Regions from separate parts of the Homo sapiens genome. Here region 1 is linked to region 2. Evidence: promoter capture Hi-C in human tissues and cell types (Jung and others, 2019). All regions are on one chromosome and are shown on one strand. The core of a region is centred on a gene start or on the middle of the fragment in contact, and the rest is flanking DNA. Distances in the headings are between cores, read along the strand shown. Region 1 has its middle 73 kb from the start of IRX1. Region 2 holds the start of IRX1 (iroquois homeobox 1).

The links. Contacts are between HindIII fragments. The study calls those that stand out against the background at their distance.
Region 1: a contact is called between a fragment that was not itself captured here and the fragment with the promoter of IRX1 in region 2, in 3 of the 25 tissues and cell types used here (bladder, small bowel and spleen).

The regions. Positions count from the first base shown.
Region 1 is chr5:3,665,175-3,671,961 of GRCh38, forward strand. No RefSeq gene overlaps it. Among named protein-coding and RNA genes, the nearest start is that of IRX1, 73 kb to the left of the region's middle. The HindIII fragment of the contact is 5,481 bases long and covers 1,929-6,787 here.
Region 2 is chr5:3,591,969-3,598,686 of GRCh38, forward strand. It overlaps IRX1 (iroquois homeobox 1), which reads left to right and starts at 3,864. Exons shown (of 4, transcript NM_024337.4): 1 at 3,864-4,413. The coding sequence starts at 4,138. RefSeq lists a silencer at 3,567-3,861. The HindIII fragment of the contact is 23,247 bases long and covers 1-6,718 here.

The DNA.
Region 1 (6,787 bases), core at 3,419-5,918, 74 kb after region 2:
TTCTGTGAAGAAAGTCAATGGTAGCTTGATGAGGACAGCATTTTTAAATTACTTTGGGCAGTATGGCCATTTTCATGATATTGATTCTTCCTATCCATGAGCATGAATGTTTTTCCATTTGTTTGTGTCCTCTCTTGTTTCCTTGAGCAGTGGGTTTCAGTATTCCTTGAAGAGGTCCTTCACATCCCTTGTAAGCTGTATTCCTAGATATTTTATTCTCTTTGTAGCAATTGTGAATGGGAGTTCACTCATGATTTGGCTCTCTGATTGTCTATTATTGGTGTATAGGAATGCTTGTGATTTTTGCACATTCATTTTGTATCCTGAGACTTTGTTAACATTCCTTATCAGCTTAAAGAGATTTTGGGCTGAGATGATGGAGTTTTCTAAAGATACAATCATGTCGTCTGCAAACAGAGACAACTTGACTCCGTCTCTTCCTGTTTGAACACCCTTTATTTCTTTCTCTTGCCTGATTGCCCTGGCCAGAACTTCCAATACTATGTTGAATAGGAGTAGTGAGAGAGAGTATCCTTGTCTCGTGCCGGTTTTCAAAGAGAATGCTTCCTGCTTTTGTCAATTCAGTATAATATTGGCTGTGGTTTTGTCATAAATATCTTTTATTATTTTGAGATGTGTTCCATCAATACCTAGTTTATTGAGAGTTTTTAGCATGCAAGGGTGTTGAATTTTGTCAAAGGCCTTTCCTGCATCTATTGAGATAATCGTGTTTTTTTCCATTGGTTCTGTTTATGTGATGGATGACATTTATTGATTTGTGTATGTCGAACCAGCCTTGCATCCTAGGGATGAAGCCGACTTGTTTGTGGTGGATAAGCTTTTTGATGTGCTGCTGGATTAGGTTTGCCAGTATTTTATTGAAGATTTTTGCATCCATGTCCATCAGGGATATTGGCCTGAAATTTTCTTTTTTGTTGGGTCTCTGCCAGGTTTTGGTATCAGGATGATGCTGGCCTCATAAAAGGAGTTAGGGAGGAGTTCCTTTTATTCTATCATTTGGATTAATTTCAGAAGGAATGGTACCTGCTCCTCTTTGTACCACTGGTAGAATTCGGCTGTGAATCTGTCTGGTCCTGGGCTGTTTTTGGTTGGTAGGCTACTAATTACTGCCTGAATTTCAGAACTTACTATTGGTCTATTCAGGGATTCGACTTCTTCCTGGTTTAGTCTTGGGAGGGTGTATGTGTCCAGGAATGTGTCCATTTCTTCTAGATTTTCTAGCCTATTTGCGTAGAGGTGTTTAAAGTATTTTCTGATAGTAGTTTGTATTTCTGTGAGATCATTGGTGATAGCCCCTTTATCATTATTTATTGTGTCTATTTGATTCTTCTCTATTTTCTTCTTTACTAGTCTGGCTAGCGGTCTATCTATTTTGTTAATCTTTTCAAAACACCAACTCTTGGATTCACTGATTTTTTTTTGAAGGGTTCTTCATGTCTCTGTCTCCTTCAGTTCTGCTCTGATCTTAGTTATTTCTTATCTTCTGCTAGCTTTTGAATTTGTTTGCTCCTGCTTCTCTAGTTCTTTTAATTGTGATGTTAGGGTGTCGATTTTAGATCATTCCCATTTTCTCCTGTGGGCATTTAGTGCTATACATTTTCCTCTAAACATTTATTTAGCTGTGTTCCAGAGATTCTGGTACGTTGTGTCTTTGTTCTCATTGTTTTCAAAGAACTTATTTATTTCTGCCTTCATTTCATTATTTACCCAGTAGTCATTCATGAGAAGGTTGTTCTGTTTCCATGTAGTTGCGCAGTTTTTAGTGAGTTTCTTAATCCTGAGTTCTAATTTGATTGCACTGTGGTGTGAGAGACTGTTTGTTATGATTTCTTTTCTTTTTTTTTTTGAGACGGAGTCTGGCTCTGTCACCCAGGCTGGAGTGCCATGGCGTGATCTCAGCTCACTCCAAGCTCTGCCTCCCAGGTTCACACCATTCTCCTGCCTCAGCCTCCTGAGAAGCTGGGACTACAGGTGCCCACCACCACGTCCGGCTAATTTTTTGTGTTTTTAATAGAGACAGATTTTCACTGTATTAGCCAGGATGATCTCGATCTCCTGATCTCATGATCCGCCCACCTCAGCCTCCCAAAGTGCTGGGATTAGAGGCGTGACCCACTGTGCCAGGCCTATGATGTCTGTTCTTTTGCATTTGCTGAGGAGTGTTTTACTTCCAATTATGTGATTAATTTTAGAATAAGTGTGATGTGGTGCTGAGAAGAATGTATATTCTGTTGACTTGAGGTGGAGAGTTCTGTATGTGTCTATTAGGTCTGCTGAGTCCAGAGCTGAGTTCAAGTCCTGAATATTCTTGTTAACTTTCTGTCTCATTGATCTGTCTAATATTGACATTGTGGTGTTAAATTATCCTACTATTATTGTGTGGGAGTCTAAGTCTCTTTGTAGGTCTCTAAGAACTTGCTTTATGAATCTAGGTGCTCCTGTATTGGGTGCATATATATTTAGGATAGTTAGCTCTTCTTGTTGCTTTGATCCCTTTACCATTATGTAATGCCCTTCTTTGTCTCCTTTGATCTTTTTTGGTTTAAAGTCTATTTTATCAGAGACTAGGATTGCAACCCTTGCTTCTTTTTGCTTTCCATTTGCTTGGTTAATCTTCCTCCATCCCTTTATTTTGAGCCTATGTCAGTCTTTGCATGTGAGATGGGTCTCCTGAATACAGCACATCGATGGTTCTTGACTCTATCCAATTTGCCAGTCTGTCTTTTAATTGATGCATTTAGCCAGTTTACATTTAAGGTTAATATTGTTATGTGTGAATTTGATCCTGTCATTGTGATGCTAGCTGGTTATTTTGCCTGCTAGTTGATGCAGTTTCTTCATAGTGTCAATGGTCTTTAAAATTTGGTATGTTTTGCAGTGGCTGGTACCGATTTTTCCTTTCCGTATTTAGAGCTCTTGTAAGACAGGCCTAGTGGTGACAAAATCTCTCAGCATTTGCTTGTCTGTAAAGGATTTTATTTCTCCTTCACTTATGAAGCTTAGTTTGGCTGGATATGAAATTCTGGGTTGAAAATTCTTTTCTTTAAGAATCTTGAACGTTGGCCCCCACTATCTTTTGGCTTGTAGGGTTTCTGCAGAAAGATCTGCTGTTAGTCTGACGGGCTTCCCTTTGTGGGTAACCCAGCCTTTCTCTCTGGCTGCCCTTAACATTTTTTCCTTCATTTCAACCTTGGTGAATCTGATGATTGTGTGTCTTGGGGTTGCTCTTCTTGAGGAGTATCTTTGTGGTGTTCTCTGTATTTCCTGAATTTGAACCTTGGCCTGTCTTGCTAGGTTGGGGAAGCTCTCCTGGATGATATCCTGAAGAGTGTTTTCCAACTTGGTTCCATTCTCCCCATCACTTTCAAGTTCACAAATCAAACGTAGGTTTGGTTTTTTCACATAGTCCATTTCTTGGAGGCTTTGTTCGTTCCTTTTTTTTTCTCCAATATTTTCTTCATGCTTTATATCATTAAGTTGATCTTCAATGTCTGAAATCCTTTCTTCCACTTGATCAAGCCAGCTATTGATACTTGTGTATGCTTTACAATGTTCTCGTGCTGTGTTTTTCAGCTCTATCAGGTCATTTATGTTCTAAACTGGTTATTCTAGTTAGTGATTCCTCTAACCTTTTTTCAAGGTTCTTAGCTTTCTTGCATTGGGTTAGAACATGCTCCTTTATCTCAGAGGAGCTTGTTATTACCCACCTTCTGAAGCCTACTTCTGTCAATTCATCAAACTAAGTTTCCCTCCAGTTTTGTCCCCTTGCTGGTGAGGAGTTGTGATCCTTTGGAGGAGAAGAGGCATTCTGGTTTTTGGAATTTTTAGTCCTTTAGTGTTGTTTTTTTTCTAATCTTCATGGATTTATCTACCTTTGGTCTTTGATGCTGGTGACCTTTGGATGGGGTTTTTCCGTGGATGTCCTTTTTGTGGATGTGGATGCTATTCCTTTCTGTTTGTTAGTTTTCCTTCTAACAGTCAAGCCCCTCTGCTGCTGGTCTGCTGGGAGTTTGCTGGAGGTCCTGTCCAGACCCTGTTTGCATGGGTATCACCAGTGGAGGCTGCAGAACAGCAAAGATTCTGTTTCTTCCTCTGGAAGCTTTGTCCCAGAGGGGCACCGGCCAGATGCCAGCCAGAGCTCTCCTGTATGAGGTGACTGTTGACCTCTACTGGGAGGTGTCTCCCAGTCAGGAGGCATGGGGGTCAGGAACCCACTTGAGGAGGCAATCTGTCTCTTATCAGAGCTCAAACACTGTGCTGGGAGATCCACTGCTCTCTTCAGAGCTGGCAGGCAGGAAAGTTTAAGTCTGTTGAAGCTGTGCCCACAGCTGCCCCTTCCTCTGGGTGCTCTGTCCCAGGGAGATGGGAGTTTTATCTATAAGCCCCTAACTGGGGCTCTTGCCTTTCTTTCAGAGATGCCCTGCCCAGAGAGGAGGAATCTAGAGAGGCATTCTGGCTACAGGAGCTTTGCAGAGCTGCGGTGGGCTCCACCCAGTTTGAACTTCCCCTTTACACTGTGAGGGGAAACCCACCTACTCAAGCCTTCGTAATGGTGGATACCCCACCCCTGACTAAGCTTGGGCATCCCAGATTGACTTCAGCCTGCTGTGTTGGAAGAGAGAATTTCAAGCCAGTGGATCTTAGCTTGCTGGGCTCCATGGGGTGGGATCAGCTGAGCTAGAACAATTGGCTCCCTGGCTTTAGCCCCCTTTCCAGGGGAGTGAATGGTTCTGTGTCAGTAGCATTCCAGGTGCCACTGGGGTACAAAAAAAACTCCTATAGCTAGCTTGGTGTCTGCCCAAATGGACGCCCAGTTTTGTGCTTGAAGCCCAGGGCCCTGGTGGTGAAGGTACCCAAGGAATCTCCTGGTCTGTGTGTTGCAAAGACCACGGGAAAAGCATAGTATCTGCGCCAGAATGCACCATCTGTCATGGCACAGTCCCTCATGGCTTCCCTTGGCTAGGGGAGGGAGTTCCCCGACCCCTTGCACTTCCCAGGTGAGGTGATACCACACCCTGCTTTGGCTAGCCCTCCATGGGCTGCACCCCCTGTCTAACCAGTCCCAGTGAGATGAGCCATGTACCTCAGCTGGAAATGCAGAAATCACCCGCTTTCTGCATTGATCTGGCTGGGAGCTGCAGACCAGAGTTGTTCCTATTCAGCCATCTTGCCAGCCACTCGAAGACCAAGTTTTCTTAAGTTATGCAGATACGACCTTGAATTAGTTCAGATTTCCCTGTGAGGACATAACTTCATTACATTTACAGGAAAGGAAAATACAAATATTATGTTAAAGCATCAAGAGCAGTCCAATTCCTTTATTGATTAGCTTCCCGGCCTTGCTCCCTGAAGTGACCTTTTGTTGTTGAAAAGCCACATGGATGAGATGAGCAAAAGAGGTGAGAAGCAGTGATTGAGACAATGCTCATTCATTGGTGAGCTTCTCTCTGCAAACAAATACAACTATATTAATCCCCCTTCAGAGACTTGACCGTGTTTAAAACATGAAAATTTTTGAATACCTAATACAATATTATGGTTCATAATTAAAACAAACAAATAAATAAAAGGATATTTAAAAAAGAAAACACCTCCCTTCCTCTCCTGTGGCTTAGCCACCTTTCCTTTCTAATAGGAAACTGACATTGCTAGGATCTGTGTATCGCCAGAGATACGTTCTTGTCCGCATAGCCATGCACAATTGCTTCTGCACAGTGGCAGAAGACTACACACGGTTCTGCACCTTCATCTTTTCAAATATTTACTTACTAGTGTAACTTTATCCCCTCCCCATATGTGGATACAGTTATCACATATTTACAAAGTTCTTGTGCAATTTAAAAACTTTAATCTATGGTAACAATCTTATTGCTCACCATCCTAGGCATATTTGGATGTTCTCAATAGATTCCTACAAGAGGACTTGATGTGGGTTTGGGATACATGAACAAACTCCACATGGGACTTGGGTAATCAGTGATTTTCCAGGGAGTTTGAATATGTCTTCCATGTATGTTCTTCATAGTATTTGCTTGTTTAGTGTGAATTTGTACCTTTATGTAAAGAGGATAAGGCTGCCGAGAGCCACAGCCTGCAGCTCAGTTGCTAGTTTAGGGATTTACCTATTTATTTGGCATCTAATGTGTGCCAGCACTGTGCTGAGGACTGCAGAATCGAAGCTGACTCAGGCACAGATATGCCTTCTGAGCTGTGTCCAGAGGAACCCATGGGCCAGTGGGGAGGGAGAATTGCAAGCCAGTTGATTCAATCCAGCGTGGACTGATGTAATGTGATGTGGTAGGGAGGGACACAGACAGGGAGAATGCACCCTGCTGGGAGAGAGAGGATGGAAGGTGACTGAGATGAGTCACATGGGAGAAGCAGGTGTTTGCAGGGAGATATCTGAGAGCAAGGCAGTGCTGTGGCCAGGCTTTGTACTGGGGAGTCATGAATGTTCAATGTGTGTGTGCCCCAGGGCCCTGCTGGTTGCTCTGACTAAAGGCCCGACTCCCACCTCCTAACCCTGGGGAGGGAAATTTTGGTTCACATAATCGAAAAGTCTGGGGTAAAAGGCTCAGGCCTGGGTGGAAGGAAAGACTGAGACAGTGGCGTCATGGCTTCCTCTTGCCACTTGGCTGCATTGCTTGTTGGGTTTTAGCCCTGCTCTCTCCTGTGTGAACGGCTTCCTTACAAGCCAGGGAAGAGGGTCTCCTTGCTCATGGTGTGTGGTCTTTGCTGCTCTGAACCCCTGAGTGATAAACAGAGT
Region 2 (6,718 bases), core at 2,614-5,113:
GTCCTGATGTAAATATGCCCCAGGAGGGTGGGGCAGGGCGGGTGGAATCCTCACCGAGGGTTGGGAGAGAGAAAAGGGAAACGATCTTCTCCAGGAATAAAAAATCCCTCCCATTTAGAAAACTGACTCATAATAATAATGATAACAACAGCAGCACCTTGCAAGTAAACTTTCCATGAAGCCTTAACACCAGCTTAATCAAGTTAGCTTAAACTGCAGTTGCACACCAACGCCCGTCCCCCTCCACTACCGCCTCTGGGCCTTTCCTCTCCTCCCCGCCCAACCCCCACCCCCACAGCCTGCCCCCTGCGCTCCCCGAGACACGCGCGCTCTCTGCCCATGCCGCTGCAGCCGGAGGCCTGCATCTGTCCCAGCCCTGGACGCGCTGAAGGTCCTAGCTTCCCAGCAGGGGTGTCCCAGTCACCCCCCATTGCCGAGCTTCGCGGGGTCTTGCCAGCCTTCTGGGCCACGTGCCTTGGGTCCCCGGAGCACTGGGGCCCAAGGGCTTCCGGACTGGATCCCCGGCGCTAAGCAGGAGGAGCTCCGATTCCGCTGCGCAGCGACCCCTAGACCTGGTTTTGTCAGGCTCCTCGTCTTTGTCTCTGGCACAGTGACCAGGGGGCAGCCACCGGGTGCGGCCAGCTCCGCCAGGAGCAACTTCCGGAGCAGCGGCAGGGCCTGCCTCAGCCACCCCCTTTGGAGGCAGGAAAAGTGGCTGAGGGGCCAACAAAGTGGCTCTCTCCTGCCTCAGAGGTCCAGCGCCTCACAGCTGGGGCGTCGGTTTCGAAGGCCAAGCAGAGGGAACCACACAACCTCCCATTCCAATGTCCATCGCCTTTGCCTGGCACCCCTAGGGCCACCAGAGGGATGGTCCTAGATGCCAGTGATGCTGAGTCCGGGCAGCGGCAGGGGCAGTCTCTTTGAGGGAAAGTTTTAGACCTTCTCACGACATTTTTAAAAGGACGTTCAAATCAGGCCCACGGATTCCAGACGCACAGCCCTTCTGCCTGCTCCAGCATCTGAGGCCATGAAGCCCTGGGCCCCACTGAAACATTTGCTGCTGAAAATGAGTGGCAGAACGAGTGGGAGGAAACTCTACCAGGAGGGGCTGAGCCAGGAGATTCTAGCTCCTTCTCCGCCCCTCCCCCTCTCTGATGGGATGCTTTGGTGGCAATTCTCTCTCTCTTTCTCTCAGTCTACCCTGCTTCCTAGTATCCTAGGTGAAAGTTTTGGGGACAAGGGCCAAGGAGAAAGAAGAGAGGAGGTGAGTCAGGGCCTGCCAGGCTCTGCTAGAGCTTCCTAGAAAGGACTTCCTAGAATTGGTTTTAGGCGAGGGACCTGGAGTGCAGCCTCAGGCCCTGGCCTTGGGCAGAGAATAGACCACAATCTCCCCTTCTGCACCTTTGCAGGGCTCTCCAGGGAGCAAGTTACCCAGCTTTGCTAGTGCCGCTTCCCCAGGAACTGTGCAGTCCTCAGGCAGGATTCACAGGGGAGTCTCCAGGTGGGGCCCAGCCAGGTCCTCCCCACCCAGCTCCTCCCCACCCAGCTCCCTGGTGTTTTGAGGAGCCTGCAATCACTTTGTGATGTGATGCCAATGGAGGTGATGCAGCCGGGGCACAGAGGAGTGGGCTGGTTGAGTTAGGATGAAGCCTCCACTCCCCTATTCCTGCCTCCCCACAGAGCTCTGCCAGCTGCAGAGAGACCTGAGGCTTGCGGGTGGGGTGGGCGGTGGTGCTCAGTGGGTTGGATGGAGGCAGATAAGCTGTAGCTGAATCCCAAGGCTGAGAAGTGTCCCTGGACTTACATCCCACCTCATTCTCCAGGTCACTCAAGAGGGCGTATCTCCCCTGTCAACCTGAAATGTGACACTGTAGTTTGCTGAACAGGACAGGGGTGGGTGGGACTGGCCCACTTCTCACACAGTGAGTCACAGGCAATGGATGGATTTGTTTTGGGTATAGAGGAGAGGAGGTTGAAGATCGGAAATCTGTCTTAGGGTTAGAAGGTGTCTGGTGGTAGGCTGGGGAACAGGAAAAAGCTGCAGTTAGGGGCTTCCCGGATTTGTGTCACCAAGAATCCACTCCCCACCAACCCTCGGCGTCCCCACAAACCCAGCCCGGAATCTATGTAAAAGCAGGAAAGGAACCCTGGAGGTTGTAGGCGGATCCTGGAGTGTGGAGGGGCGAATTGAGCGCGGGAAGCAGCATGACTAGCAAGACAATCTGACTCAGAGCAGGGAAAAATCAAGCCCGATGTCGGAGCTGGTTATTAGTAATTACTACCATCACGGGCATTATTGTTGCTAATTATAGGCGATGTCTCAGTGTCTGTCCTCAGGCCCGGAAAACCGGAGCCCCTCCTGATGCTGCTGAAGTCCCTGGGCCTCGAGGCTCCGTGAAGAGAGGGAAGCGAGGCAGGGGGTGAAGGGACCGCCTGGCCGGTGTCCAGGATACGGGTGGCTCAAACCACCAGCAGAACAGCATGCCGACTCTGGCCCGATGGCCGCCTTCATCCCGTAGCCCCAACCCGGCCTAAAGCCGAGAAGACGCCAGAGTGCGCTGCTGAAATTCCCGCGGAGTCCGGTGTGCTGGAGAGCCGCAGCGGGGTGAACTCCCGGCCCCGTCTCTGCGTAGGAGGTGGTTCGCAAAGTGGCCCCGGGAGCCGGGACTGGTACCCGGTTCCCCACGGCACCGTCCGGAGCTCTCCAGCCACGAGGCGCAGAAGTGGCCTGCCAGCGCCTTCCCAGGCTCAGGGAGGCGAGGAGGCCCGTGCACTTGGCATCTTCTCCCGGGAGCCGCACGGCCAGGGCCGCGGCGAAACGGAGCCCATCTCAAGTGCGCCGCGCCTGGCCGCGTCCTGTAGCCCGACGAGGCTGAGGATGGAGAGGGGAGACGCAGGGAGAAGAGGGACGCGGGACTTGGACCCAAGAGGCCGCTCCGTTGCCGGTCTGGCGGCGGCGCCGACTCGGGTTCGCGCGTTCCACACAAGTTTCCTGTCTGCCTCTGCACACCTGGTGGACAAACCGGGCGTCCAGGCCACACCGTCTTCCCCCTTCGCGGGGGCGCGGGGGATGTTTCCCTCCGGCTGCCAGGGGGCTTTCTGGGTGAAGAGAAAGCCCCTCCCCCCGCGTCTCCCCCACCCCTCCCTCCGAGAACCCGCGGCGCCGACTGCGCCTGCTTCCCCCGAGCTGGCGACTTCTCCGCGGGATTTGCCCTCGCTCAAAGTTTGCACAATTGAAAGAGCCCGCAGAGCTCGGCCGCTCCCCGCTTCCCCAAGGGCGGCGAGGCCGGTCATTGGCAGACGATCGGTTACTACCCAGTAGGGGCCCACGGGAACCCGCATCTGGAGTCGGGGGTGTCACGCCACGCCGGTTCAGTGGCTCGCGGAGAGCGTCCGGGTGCACTTCTGCCAAAGATGTCCCCTGGAGGCCCCGGCCGCGCGGGACTCGGGGGAGAGGCCGCTCCCCCCTCGCTGTCACCAGCGTCCAGGCCGCCGGCCCCTTCCCCGCTGCCCAAACAGTAGAAAAGCAGGCGCCAAGTTGTTTTTGTTAAAAAGGGGACACACCTCGGCCGCGAAACTGCAAACCCGGTGTCAGACAGCTGTAAACCCGTGTCGACAGGTTGTCAGACAGCTGCGGGGGCTGGTCGGGAAGGAGCCCACGGCCTCCGGGCCCACACCCCGCCGCCCCGACGCGCGCGCCCACCGCGAGAGTAGCTGGCCGGGCCGGCACGGGGCACCACGTGCTCGCGGGAGGGGCGGGAGCGGCCGGCGAGGGCGGGCGGGAGGCAGGGAGGGGGCGGGAGGGGAGCCAGGGGCGGGGCCTGCGCTCAAGGGGATGCCAATCAAAGCATCAACTTCAAATTGTGTCTGAAAGCCCCGCCGCCGAGCGGAGGGCGGCCGCCGCAGTCGGCGCGCGATTGCGGATCCGGGCGCAGCCGGGAGCCGGGCGCCTGCGAGCACCGGGCAGAGGAGCCGCGACCGGCCTCCATCTCCCGGCCCGCCCGAGCGCGCCCGGCCGGCCGCCCGCTCCTCCCTAGACCCCTCGCGGCGCCCCCTGCAACCCCCTCCGGCCGGCCTCCGCCTCCCTCCCCGCGCCTTTAATACTCGCCCGCTGCGGCGGTCGCCGAGTCCGCGGACATGTCCTTCCCGCAGCTGGGCTACCCGCAGTACCTGAGCGCCGCGGGGCCGGGCGCCTACGGCGGCGAGCGCCCGGGGGTGCTGGCCGCGGCCGCTGCGGCGGCTGCCGCCGCCTCGTCGGGCCGACCGGGGGCCGCGGAGCTGGGCGGCGGGGCAGGCGCGGCTGCAGTCACCTCGGTGCTGGGCATGTACGCGGCGGCGGGGCCGTACGCGGGCGCGCCCAACTACAGCGCCTTCCTGCCCTACGCCGCGGATCTCAGCCTCTTCTCGCAGATGGTGAGTGCGCCCGGCCTCCCCCGCTTCTCCTCTGTCTCACCCGCGCCAGGGCAAGGGTGGCGGGTCGCCCGGGAGGGAGAGACTACGGGTGGACCTGGTCCGGAAGAGGAACTAGAAAGGTCCGGGGGCAGGTTCCCGGTGGCCGAGGCCGCGGCCCCCGGGGACGCAAGAGGGCTGGGAGGCCGGGCGGGTGACGGCTGGGCCATCTCGGCCTGGGAAAGCGGAAGGCCCGGGCCAGGGAGCGGGTAGCGAGTGAATTCAGAGAGGCCGCAGAAGCAGGCCCGTGGAGCGGTGCCCGCGCTGGAGGTCGGGGGCAAACTCGCCTGGCTCGGCCAGGGCGCCCGGGCAGGCCCACGGGGTTCCTGCAGGTCGGCCCGGCGTAGCGTAGCAGGACTTCCCTTCCTGGCCGCGGGTTCCACTCGCGCGGCCTCTTTAGTTTTCGAACCGAGTCTGGAAAACTTGGTTTTCTCCCTCTTTAGCAGCTCCGAGATAGTTGTATCCGAGTTTGCCAGACAGACCCCTTCTAAGCCTGGTAGAGTCAATCAAAATAATCTTAACAATAGAGGTCCAAAGGGATGGAGAGGTCTCTCCACGGCGTGAGTGCGAATTTGAGATTAAACAAAAATTAAGTTGCAGTAATGTGCTGGTGTCTGAAACGGTGTTTGATTTTACTTTTGTAAGTTGCCCAAGTTTTCATTTCATTTGCACAGAAAGAAAAGCACTTTTCTTCCTGCGTTACATAATGGAGGATTAAAGAAAACAGTGTCCCTTGGCTTAAAACAAATGGTGTCCTCTTAGTCTCCCGTCCCAGTGGGCGTTAGATGTCGGGGCAGGCGGCTGCACACTTAATTCTCCGCGGGGGCATTGGCCTGTCTGCCGGTCCAAATCATCCATTTTCCTTGGTCTGACTGCAAGGTCGGTGCTTAAACTTCGGACGGCTGGTGAATTGTGCGGCGGGCGCGGGGCCCTGGGAGGCAGCCCCCTCCTGGGTCGCTGCCCGCGGGATAAAGCAATTTCCAAGCACCCGCGATATCTCCCCGCTCCCCGCAGGAGAAGCGGGGAGTAAACGCCCCTCAAGTGTGCACAAGCAAAGAGCGGGTTTCCCTGTAACTTTTCTTGTAGTTTTGAAAGAAAGCGGCCCGGCTGCCTTTCAGGTCTCTTACTATCGAAAAAGATCAGCCCCCATTTTGTTCAGGCGGCGGGGAGGCCGGGACGCGATGAGAGATTTACAAGGTGTCCTTTCAAAAAGAATTCCCAGTGGAGACGAGGCTGAAACGTCTTCTTTACAATTACAACCAAAATAATTAGAAAAGCGCAAAGTACATTTTGGAACGATTGGGCAAAAACGAAATCTAGCCGCAGAAATGTTTTCTCTGCGGCCTCAGTCACCAAACTAATTAGTCCAAGAAATCTTCTGGTCTTTACAACTTTCTCAGAGTCCGGAACTCCCTTTGCTAACATTGCAACTAGACCATTTTTTCAGAGGATGAATATTTTTTACAGAAATTGCGAATGCAGTTGTGTGCCATTTGGGAACCCTGCCTGTGTTTGCGGGGGAGGGAGAGAGCTTCAGTGTGAGGACCTGCACCCTTTGTGGAGAGCTGGGGAAGGGAGATGTTTGCTGTTCTGAGTTGTTTTTCCCACCTAGAGGGATAATATGTAAAAATTATTCCCACCCAAAAGGTGTGTGTTTCTCCAGCTCTCCCACTGGTTCTGAGAGAGTAAACTCAAACCCAAACCCTGATTCTAGGCCTAGGTTTCCAAGCCATTATAATTGGGTGTTTGGAAGTCAAAAGATAAAATTGTATTTGAATGTCTGTCTGCGCAATTTATGGTAATAATGAGGCCTAATGAGGTTGTTAGAAAGATAAAATGTTATTTACCAAAAAACCTGATGGGATAATTTGACTTGCTGTGTTTTACTACTGATTATAAAAAGAATATCGATTGCAAATAAATCAGCGCCTCTAAATGCCTGCAAACAGCTAGTGTTTGCTCCCTCCAGATCAAAGTCAAACTTAAGAGATGAAGTAACTGAGAAGAGGCCTAGGATACTGAACCGGTTCCCCTCCTGGCCGCCGGTGGCTCCCAGCCCTTGCGTTAATATTTTACAGGCTAAGCCTTCCTTTTGTATTAAAAAAAAAAATGGTGTTTTTGTTATTGTTGTCGATGATGGCCGGGATTAAAATTTTAAATTACCTGTCACCTCTAAAGACCTTTTAATGTGGGTAAACCATTATATGCAGATTAATTTGGAAGGCAAAGGACTGTGCTTTCGTTTTAAATTGCTGGCGGATTTAGACCG